2 separate regions of the Homo sapiens genome follow, and region 2 is linked to region 1. The links are contacts of gene promoters, found by promoter capture Hi-C in human tissues and cell types (Jung and others, 2019). All regions are on one chromosome and are shown on one strand. The core of a region is centred on a gene start or on the middle of the fragment in contact, and the rest is flanking DNA. Distances in the headings are between cores, read along the strand shown. Region 1 holds the start of PTBP1 (polypyrimidine tract binding protein 1). Region 2 holds the start of PALM (paralemmin).

Evidence for each region. Contacts are between HindIII fragments. The study calls those that stand out against the background at their distance.
Region 2: the fragment with the promoter of PALM here is called in contact with the fragment with the promoter of PTBP1 in region 1 in 2 of the 25 tissues and cell types used here (dorsolateral prefrontal cortex and lymphoblastoid cells).

The regions. Positions count from the first base shown.
Region 1 is chr19:794,369-799,029 of GRCh38, forward strand. PTBP1 (polypyrimidine tract binding protein 1) reads left to right here and starts at 3,084. Exons shown (of 15, transcript NM_002819.5): 1 at 3,084-3,137. The coding sequence starts at 3,130. RefSeq lists enhancers at 2,203-2,838, 2,491-2,830, 3,037-3,922, 3,923-4,661 and silencers at 2,743-3,097, 2,861-3,210, 3,221-3,400, 3,471-3,780. The HindIII fragment of the contact is 37,831 bases long and covers 1-4,661 here.
Region 2 is chr19:706,216-710,876 of GRCh38, forward strand. PALM (paralemmin) reads left to right here and starts at 2,720. Exons shown (of 9, transcript NM_002579.3): 1 at 2,720-2,936. The coding sequence starts at 2,932. RefSeq lists an enhancer at 1,717-2,277 and a silencer at 1,730-1,966. The HindIII fragment of the contact is 30,523 bases long and covers 1-4,661 here.

The sequences.
Region 1 (4,661 bases), core at 1,834-4,333:
TTTTTTTGAGATAGCGTGTCACTCTGTTGCCCAGGCTGGAGTACAGTGGCGTAATCTAGGCTCACTGCAACCTCCGCCTCCCGCGTTCAAGTGATTCTCCCGCCTCAGTCTCCCGAGTAGCTGGGATTACAGGAGCAAACCACCACGCCCGGCAAATTTTTGTATTTTTAGTGGAAACGGGCTTTCACCATGTTGGCCAGGATAGTCTCAGGCTCTTCACCTTGTGATCCGCCTGCCTCGGCCTTCCAAAGTGCTGGGATGACAGGTGTTTATTTTCGTTTTTGTTTTTTAGAGACAGAGTTTCACTCCTGTTGCCCAGGCTGGAGTGCAATGGCGCAATCTCGGCTCACTGCAACCTCCGCCTCCCGGGTTCAAGTGATTCTCTTGCCTCAGCCTCCCAAGGAGCTGGGATTATAGGGCATGCACCACCACGCCTGGCTAATTTTTGTATTTTTGGTGGAGAGGAGGTTTCTCCATGTTGGCCAGGCTGGTCTCGAACTCTGACCTCAGGTGATCCACTCACCTCGGCCTGCCAGAGTGCTGGGATTACAGGTGTGAGCCATTGCACCCGGCCAGACACTGTCTTAAAAAAATAAAAATAAAAAAAGGTACTGGACAGGTGGCTGGTCATGTGGGGCTTGCGGGGTAAGGGATGGCCTTGGGTTTATACTTTGAGCAAGACAGGAGGCCTGGCGGGGCCACGATCAGAAGTGGGTTTTAACACGATTCCGAAGGGTTAGACTGGTGCTTGGAACCTGGTGGTCTCTACTGCTGCCAGCTGCCACTCAGACCCCCGGCCGCCCCTGCCTGTCTGCTTTCAGGGCGGGGCCCATCCCAGGCACTCCGCGAACAGACAGAAGCGGCTGGTTCTGGTGGTGTGAGGATGGGGGTCTCCAGGGGAGCAAATCCACAGTAACACACTGGGCTTCTCCCAGATCCACCGGACATTCCTGATGAGTGACCCTGGCTGCAGATGGCTCTTGGTGAGTCTCCGTTGACCGGGTGGTTCGGGCCAAAGGACCTTGCCGTGCGATGCCTCCATGGAGCTCGGCGGCCACCCCTAATCCGGGCTGGAATCCTCTGGCACCAGACGCCCGGCGGGGCTCCAAGGCTCCTGGGCCCACGCCAGGCCCCGGCCTGAAACGCAGCACTGCTGGAATAAAACACGCCAGAGAAGCAGGGCGCTAGGCTCGCCTGGATTTGGGGAAACGAGAATTGTCATGTCTTCTCCCTCCGTAGGTTGGTGTTAATGAAAAACCCCCTTTTCAGCATGGACTAAATCCCGCTAATTCTATTTAGGGAGCAGTGTCTACTCCGGGCCGGGAACTGCTCCGGTTTCCAACCGCAGCCTCCCGTGAGGGTCCCAGTGTGGAGGGCCGGGGTCATCCCCTCACTCTGGGATGGCTCCCAACCCGCTGACCTGGCCTCCCCGTCAGGCACCCTCACAGCTCTGTCAGACTCTTCATGTGATCAGCGCTCCTGGGAACATTAGTTTAGGGTGTTTTCTGCTGCTGGGATGGTGGCCCGGGAGGGACCCTCCTGGTGACCCTGCTGGGCCTGGCCCTCAGTTTCCCCAGCCGTAGGCTGGCAGCCTCGAACTGTACGAGCTCCAGGCCACAGTTTCCCCAGCTGTAGGTCAGTGGGCCAGGGACTGTAGGGGGCTCGGGCCTCAGTTTCCCCAGCTGTAGGCGGGTGGCTTGGGCCTCAGTTTCCCCACCTGTAGGCGGGCGGCCTTGGATTGTATGGAGCCCGGGCCTCAGTTTCTCCAGCTGTAGGCGGATGGCCGTGGACTGTGTGTGGCCTGGGCCTCAGTTTCCCCCGCTGTAGGCAGATGGCCGTGGACTGTGTGTGGCTTTGGCCTCAGTTTCCCCAGCTGTAGGCGGATGGCCGTGGACTGTGTGTGGCCCGGACCTCAGCTTCCCCAGCTTTAGGCGGTTGGCCGCGGACTGTGCAAAGTCCAGGCCTCAGTTTCCCCAGCTGTAAGCGGGCGGCCGCCCACTGTACAAGGTCCAGGCCTCAGTTTCCCCAGCTGTAGGTGAGAGGCCGCGGACTGTACAAGGTCCAGGCCTCAGTTTCCCCAGCTGTAGGCGGGCGGCCAAGGACTGCAAGGTCCAGGCCTCAGTTTCCCCACCTGTAGGCGGGCGGCCGCGGACTGTACAAGGTCCAGGCCTCAGTTTCCCCAGCTGTAGGTGAGAGGCCGCGGACTGTACAAGGTCCAGGCCTCAGTTTCCCCAGCTGTAGGCGGGCGGCCGCCTACTGTATAAGGTCCAGGCCTCAGTTTCCCCAGCTGTAGGCGGGCGGCCGCGGACTGTACAAGGTCCAGGCCTCAGTTTTCCCAGCTGTAGGCAGCCGGCCGCGGACTGTGCGGGGCCCGGACCTCAGTTTCCCTATCTCCGCAGTCGGGATTCGCTGTTCCGGGGCGAACAAAGAACGGTCGGGGGTGACCCCGGATCATGGCGCGCCCGCAGTATCTGTGGCCACTGTGGAAACAGCCCTGGCGTGTCCGGGACGCGACGCGGCCTTTCCCTCCCCGCGCGATCACCCAGATGTGAGCGCTCAGTTTGAATCGGACTTTTTGGCCATGTGCCCACAACCAACATGGAGCCCTGAGGGTTTCCTGCCCGACTCCAAGATGGCGATGCGACTCCCTTTGCCCTCACGGCCCAGGCGGGCGGGTCCTGCCCACTTGCAAGATGGCGGCAGCCTGGGCAAAGCACGCTTCCCGCCGCCTGACTCGCCACGTACCCACTCTCAAGATGGCGTCTCCCGCAAAGCCACGCGCCAGCTGACTGGCTCAGACGCCGTCACGTGATCCCATTTTCTCCCCCTCCCCCGACTACACAAGCCGTTTCCGCCTTCGGCCTTGAGGAATAACCGCCTCCCCCAATAGGCGCCTGCGATTTCTCTGGGTCCCGCCCCCGGGCGGCCTTCTGGCCAGTGGGAGGTGCTGGCGGGGGCCCGCGGGGCTCTCCCCGCCCCCTGGCTGCAGCGGGAGCCAATGGGCAGCGCGCGCGGGGGACGTGTGCGGGCGTCTCCGCCATTTTGTGAGTCTATAACTCGGAGCCGTTGGGTCGGTTCCTGCTATTCCGGCGCCTCCACTCCGTCCCCCGCGGGTCTGCTCTGTGTGCCATGGACGGGTGAGTCGCACGTCGCCCCGCGCCCCACCGCCCTCCCCGCGCCGCAGCCCTGCCCCCGCCGCCGCGCCGGCCTCCCCGGGGCCGATCTCGCCCCCTCTCGGGCGGGAGGGGGCGGCGGGCTCTCCCCTTCCTCTCCGCGTGGCGGGCGCGGGTGCGGGGCGGGTCAGGGGCTTCCCGGGGGTCTGGCCGCGTCCCCATCCCCCGTCCGGCCCGCTTCCGGCCCCCGCGCGCCCCGTCCCTAGCGCACGCGGCCTCCCGCGCCCCTCCCCCTCCGCGCGCGTCCCCGCACTTCGCCTTTGCCCCGCCTCGGCGGCGCGCGGCCCTTCCCGCTTCCCGTCCGGCCCTCGCGCGCCCGGATGGCCCTTCCCGCCTCCCGTCCGCTCCCCTCGTGCGCCTGCGTAGCCCGTCGCGCGTCCCCGTTGGCCCCAGCGCGCGTGCGCGGCCGCCATCGGGGGCGCGCGCCTTTCCCGCCGCCCGGACTCTGCCCCCGGCGCAGCCCCGGAAGCGCAGGCGGGGCTGGGGCGGCCGCCGGGAGGGAAAGCTGGCGCCGGGGCCTCGCCGCGGGCCCGAGTCTCTGCGCTCCCCGCCCTACCCCTGCCCCCCGTGCGCCCCGGGCCGCGGCCAAGGGGTTTCGGTGATCTCGGGAGAGAAGCGGCCGCCCCGAGGGTCTGTCCTCCGCCCCGGGGCCGGAGGGGCCTCTCCAGGGACCCCCGCGGGCGCCGTCATGGGGAGGGGCCTTCCCGGCTCTCGGGCCGGGGCAGCCTTTCCGGGCGGCTTTGCTGGGCGGGCTTCCCTTGGGAGAGGTGGGAGCCCCCTCCAGAAAGGCCGTGTCCCGCCGAGCGCTTCCTGCGCGAGGCCCTCCCTGGGAATAGGAAGCGGGAGAGGCTGGAGATGTTTCGCATTCTTTCCGTTTTCCTGAGAAGTTTTTCTTGGGTTCAGTCACTTTTAAAAGTCTGTTAAACGTGGTCCGTGCAGTCTGTGGTGTCAGAAGAGGCGCAGCCCTAGAGTGGGTCTGGACCCCTTAGCATGCGTGCGGGCAGGTGGGTCCTGCAGACGGCGAGACGAGGGCTCCCCGCTCTCGGACCCAGCACCGCGGGCTCGGGGGCCGCGCACTCGCCTCCCGGAGTGAGGCAGGAGGCCCGGAGGCTGCCCTTCCGACGGACGCTCCGAGTCACTTAGGGCCTCGCCGGGAGTTGCAGTGGCCGGGAGAAGCCGTGGGGAGCTCACTGTTGGGTCAGGACCTGGCCGGGGCTGAAGGGAGGGCCTCGGACAGTCCGGCTTTCTATCCACCTTCCCCCCGGGGTGTCCCGAGGAGGGAGAGTCGGGTCGGGCGGGGCTCGGGTTGATCAGTAACTGAGGCTGTGTTCTGGTCGGTCTGTTAATTTTTATTGACGGTTTCCACGGCCGCCTCCTGCTCTCCTCGGTGGATCGGGCTCCACTCTGCTGAGAGGCACCCTCTTGGGGGCCCACCCCTACCCGGGTGGAAGCTCTGGCCCAGGCCTGTGAGTTTGCCAGTTTCAGCCT
Region 2 (4,661 bases), core at 1,470-3,969, 89 kb before region 1:
GCCCAGGCTGGAGTGCAATTGTGCGATCTCGGCCCACTGCAACCTCCGCCTTCCAGGTTCAAGTGATTCTCCTGCCTCAGCCTCTGGAGTAGCTGGGATTACAGGCATGCACCACCACGCCCGCCTAATTTTGTATTTTTAGTAGAGACGGGGTTTCTCCATGTTGCTCAGGCTGATCTCGAACTCCAGAGCTCAGGTGATCTGCCCACCTCAGCCTCCCAAAGTGCTGGGATTACAGGCGTGAGTCACTGTGCCCGGCCCAATTTTTAATTTTTTGTAGAAATGGAAGTCTCACTAGGTAGCCCAGGGTCTTCACCTCCTGGATTCAAGTGATCCTCCTGCTTCAGTCTCCTGAAGTGTTGGGATTACATGTAACAGTCACTTCATTCACCCTGAATCATTTATGTAGGGGACAAAAATCACCGTCTCTCCAAGGACAGAACTTCTTTTTTGTTTTGTTTTGTTTTGTTTTGTTGAGATGGAGTCTTGTTCTGTCACCCAGGCTGGAGTGCAGTGGCGCGATCTCTGCTCACTGCAACTTCTGCCTCCCGGGTTCCAGCCATTCTCCTGCCTCAGCCTCCCCAGTAGCTGGGATTACAGGCGCGCACCACCATGCCCAGCTAAGTTTTGTATTTTTAGTAGAGAAGGAGTTTCACTGGCCGAGCGTGGTGGCTCACACCTGTAATCCCAGCTACTAGGGAGGCTGAGGCAGGAGAATTGCTTGAACCTGGTAGACGGAGGTTGCAGTGAGCCGAGATCGCGCCATTGCACTCCAGCCTGGGCAACAAGAGCGAAACTCCGTCCACCCCAGCCAAAAAAAGAAGTGGTTTTGCCATGTTGGCCAGGCTGGTCTCTAACTTTTGACCTCATGATCCACCAGCCTCAGCCTCCCAAAGTGCTGGGATTACAGGCGTGAGCCACCGCGCCCGGCCTGGTCTCAAACTTTTGACCTCGTGATCCACCAGCCTCAGCCTCCCAAAGTGCTGGGATTATAGGCGTGAGCCACGGCGCCTGGCCGCAAAAATGGAACTTCTGCATCACAGGTGACTAACGGTGCCAGGCACACAGTAGGTGTTCAATAAATCACTTTGGACTAAAAGAACACAGAGGCCAAGGGGAAGTGAAGAAACGACTCACAGGTCAGTTTTATTGGGTGCCTAGTGCAGGGGTCAGTACACTACGGCCCTCGGATCAGCTCTGGCCCTCTGCCTGTTTTTGTAAATAAAGTTTTATTGGGTGCCTAGTGCAGGGGTCAGTACACTACGGCCCTGGGATAAGCTCTGGCCCACTGCCTGTTTTTGTAAATAAAGTTTTATGGGCACAGAGCCATGCCCATGGTTTTACATATTGTCTCTGGCTACTTTCACTCTGCGATGGCAGAGCAGAGTCATTGCCGCAGAGACTGTGGCCTGCAATGCTGAAAATATTTACTCTCTGGCCCTTTACAGAAAAAGTTTGCCAAACCCTGAGCTAGTGTGTGCTGGGCCCTGTGCCAAGCCCTTTGTGTGTGCTCACTCAGTTAACCCTCCCACAGCCTTAAGGGTGGGGGCAGGGGGGTGGGGGGGAATAAGGCTCCGAGAGGTTGAGAAACAGACCCAGGGTCACACAGCTTGGAGATGGGTGAGCTGGGAATCAGACAGACCCGGGACCCCTGATATTCTTTAGGATCTTAGCTTTGTTAACCTTTGCTAATTTATCTTATTGTCTTAAATGCTAAAATGAATACACATTCATTGTAAAAAGGGAGGAATAAAGAAAAGGTGTTGACGGCCTTCTTCAGCCTGGGGTACATCCTGCCGTATCTTTCTCCACAGCTCATCCGGGGCTACTTTCCTTTAAATCTACAGCCATTCAGCAAACATCGGCAGAGGAGAACCGTTTTATAAGAAAACTAAGAAGTTTGGAAGAATCTTTCCTTCCTGCCCACCCTGGACCCCCATGAGTAGGTGTGCTGGGGCTGGTCTGCAGTGTTCTCACGGGAAACCAGGAAGCTGGGCCCAAGGCCTACATGTTGGGGAAGACAGGTCCTGCCTGTCTCCTGCTGTGGCTCCCCAGTGCTCTGAGGACAAAGCCTGAGCTCTCCCTGATTCTCCACCGTCCCTCTCACTCACTCTGGTCGTCTGGTCGCTGGGCCTTTAGTGAGTGTGCCATGGGGGCCCTGGGGCCGATTAAATTCCAGCCCCGGGGACCAGGCTCAGCTCCCAGCCAGGGCACAGACAGATCAGCACCTGCGGTTGTCTCCACCCCAACCCCCGGCCTTTGCAGGCACAGCGCCCTCCACCAGATACTCCGGCAAAGGAGGCCTGGGGACCCTGCGAGCGGGGCCGGGGGTGCAGGGAGCTGTCAGCTCCTCGCAGCGGCCTCCCCAGGACCCCCCTATCCCCTCGCTCGCCCTGAAATGTGTGTCCCTCTCGGCGTCTGGGCTCTCGAGAAAGGCCTTTGCTTGTCTGACTTCGCGAGGGTCCCGGCTCTGGCCCAGGAGCTGGGGAGGGGCGGGACTTGGTGACAGCCGGGTCCCAGCACCGCGCCCAGACCTAGGCCCTTCTCAGGGGTGCCCCGGGGCGGGGCGCGCGGGGCGGGGGGCGGCGGCGGCGCAGCCGGCAGGAGGCGCAGCGCCCGCTCGCAGCGCGGGGAGGTGGGAGGGGAGCGGGGCGGGGAGCGGGGCGGGCGGGAGGGAGAGGGGAGCGCGCCGGAGACGCGCGCGCCCAGCCCACCCCCCGCGCCCGCCGCCGCCCGGACAATAAACAGCAGCTTTGCGCGGGGCGATGCCCGAGCCGGTGCCGCCGCCCCCGCGCCGCGCAGCCCCGGCCGCCAGGCCTTAGCCCGCCCCGGCCCCCGCCAGGCCGCGTCCCCCTCCCCTCCCCTCCCCCGCGCGCCACCCGCGCCCGCCCCCGCCCGGCACCGCGGACCCACCCGGACCTCGGCGGGGAGATGGAGTGAGTAGGCGCGCTCGGGCCGCGGGGCTGGGGGCCCGGAGCTCCGGGAGCCGGGGAGGGGGGAGGCCCCCTCTCTCGCGCCCCATTGGGGGCGTCGCTGCCCCCGCGAGGAGCAGGAGGCGGCGCGGGGCTGCTGGGGCCGCAGCGCAGCCGGGAAGAGACTCGGGCTGGGCCGCGCCTGCCGGGAGGCCTCCCCGCTCCCGGACCCCGGCTGCCCACCCACCGGCGCGTGGGGACCCGGGCAGCGGCGGCTCGGGCCAGTCCAGGACGCGGGGAGGGGGAGGCTCGCGTCTCCGCCCGCGCCCCGCCCGCGTCTCCAGGGCGAGCCTCGGCTCTCGGCCACCTGTGGGTGGCCCCGGGGAGATGGAGCGACCCCTCCCCAGATTGCACCGGTCCGGCCTCGCGCTCACGCACCCTTCCCCCGCCCCAGTCTGAGCGCACGGCTCCTGGCGCCCTGGACGCGCGCGCGGGCCGGTGCCCCCCACCCCCGCCCTTCCCAAGGGCCTCCAGGGGTGTCCTGAGCCCCCCGCCACTGCGCAGGTCCCGAGTTACCGCTGGAGGGAGAGGGGCTGCCCTCGGCTTCCCGGGTCTCTGGGGTGTGTGAGAAGGGAGAGGAACCGGCGTTTTCCAGCGGGGCGCCTGGGTGGGATACCCTCTCGGGGAAGTGTCTCGGAGCTGGGGCTCCACTGGTGTAGCTACAGGAGTGGGCTGGCCCTGGGCTGGGATCCCTGGACCCCCGCATGGCTGCGCCTGTGTGTGTGGGGGGGGGGTGGCCAGTGGAGGCACCGAGCGAGGGCGCGTGGTCATTTCGGACACCGGTCCCCTCCTCCCGGTGCTCGGGTGCCCCTCTGCCCCTCACTCCCACAGGTGGGCACTGCACGGGCAGGGGTCAGGAGGCTCCTCCTGGGGTCACCCACCTGCCCACTTCAGGACAGGGGAGCCAGCTGCCCTGCTGAGGCCCGGGTCCCCACCCCAGCCCGAGGACCGAAGACCGGATCTGGAGGCCGCCTGTGGCCCCCTGCCCTTCCCACTGGGCGTGTTTTCTAAGCCGCCAACTTTCCCCGGGGATTCACCCGTGACCCGCCACGCCCGCGGCTGGGTGGGGGCCGCTGCCTCCCTCCCTCCCTGGGAAAGCGAGACACCCAGTGTCCTCTGCTTTTGAAAACCCAGACAAAGGCCTGACCCCTCTCCCCGTCACCCCGCCCCGGGAGCTCAGCCAGGGGCTCAGGGGAGCCAGGGCCCAGACTTGCCTGCTCCACACCCCCACCCCCCAGCCTTGTTTATCTGCCCTGCTCGCCAGGCCCCGGAGGAGCCTCTGGGCCTCTGACAGCCAGGCCTGGGCAGGGTGTGGCTGTGGGGAGGGGGCTGCCTAGGAGGACGACGGAGATCTCCCTCCCAGAGGAGGGGTGTCAGCGAACACTCCGGGTCGGGCCCATTGTTTCCTTCCTGCCACCCCTTCCTTTCCCACGGGGGATACTGAGGCCCAGAGAGGAGCTGCTGCCCCCCCCCCACCCCCCCTCCATCACACAGCACCTGGGGCCGGGGGGCCTCGGTGCCTCCTGCTCTGCTCCACGGTTTCTCCGTCCTGGGTCAGAGGGTGGCCCACAGGTCCCCCATTGGGTCATCATTGCTTTTGGGGATGCAGACATGGGACAGGCACCCAGTGTTAACCGGCTGCTGTGAGCCGCCATTCGAGGACGACTCTCTCCCCGGTTCCCGGGCTGA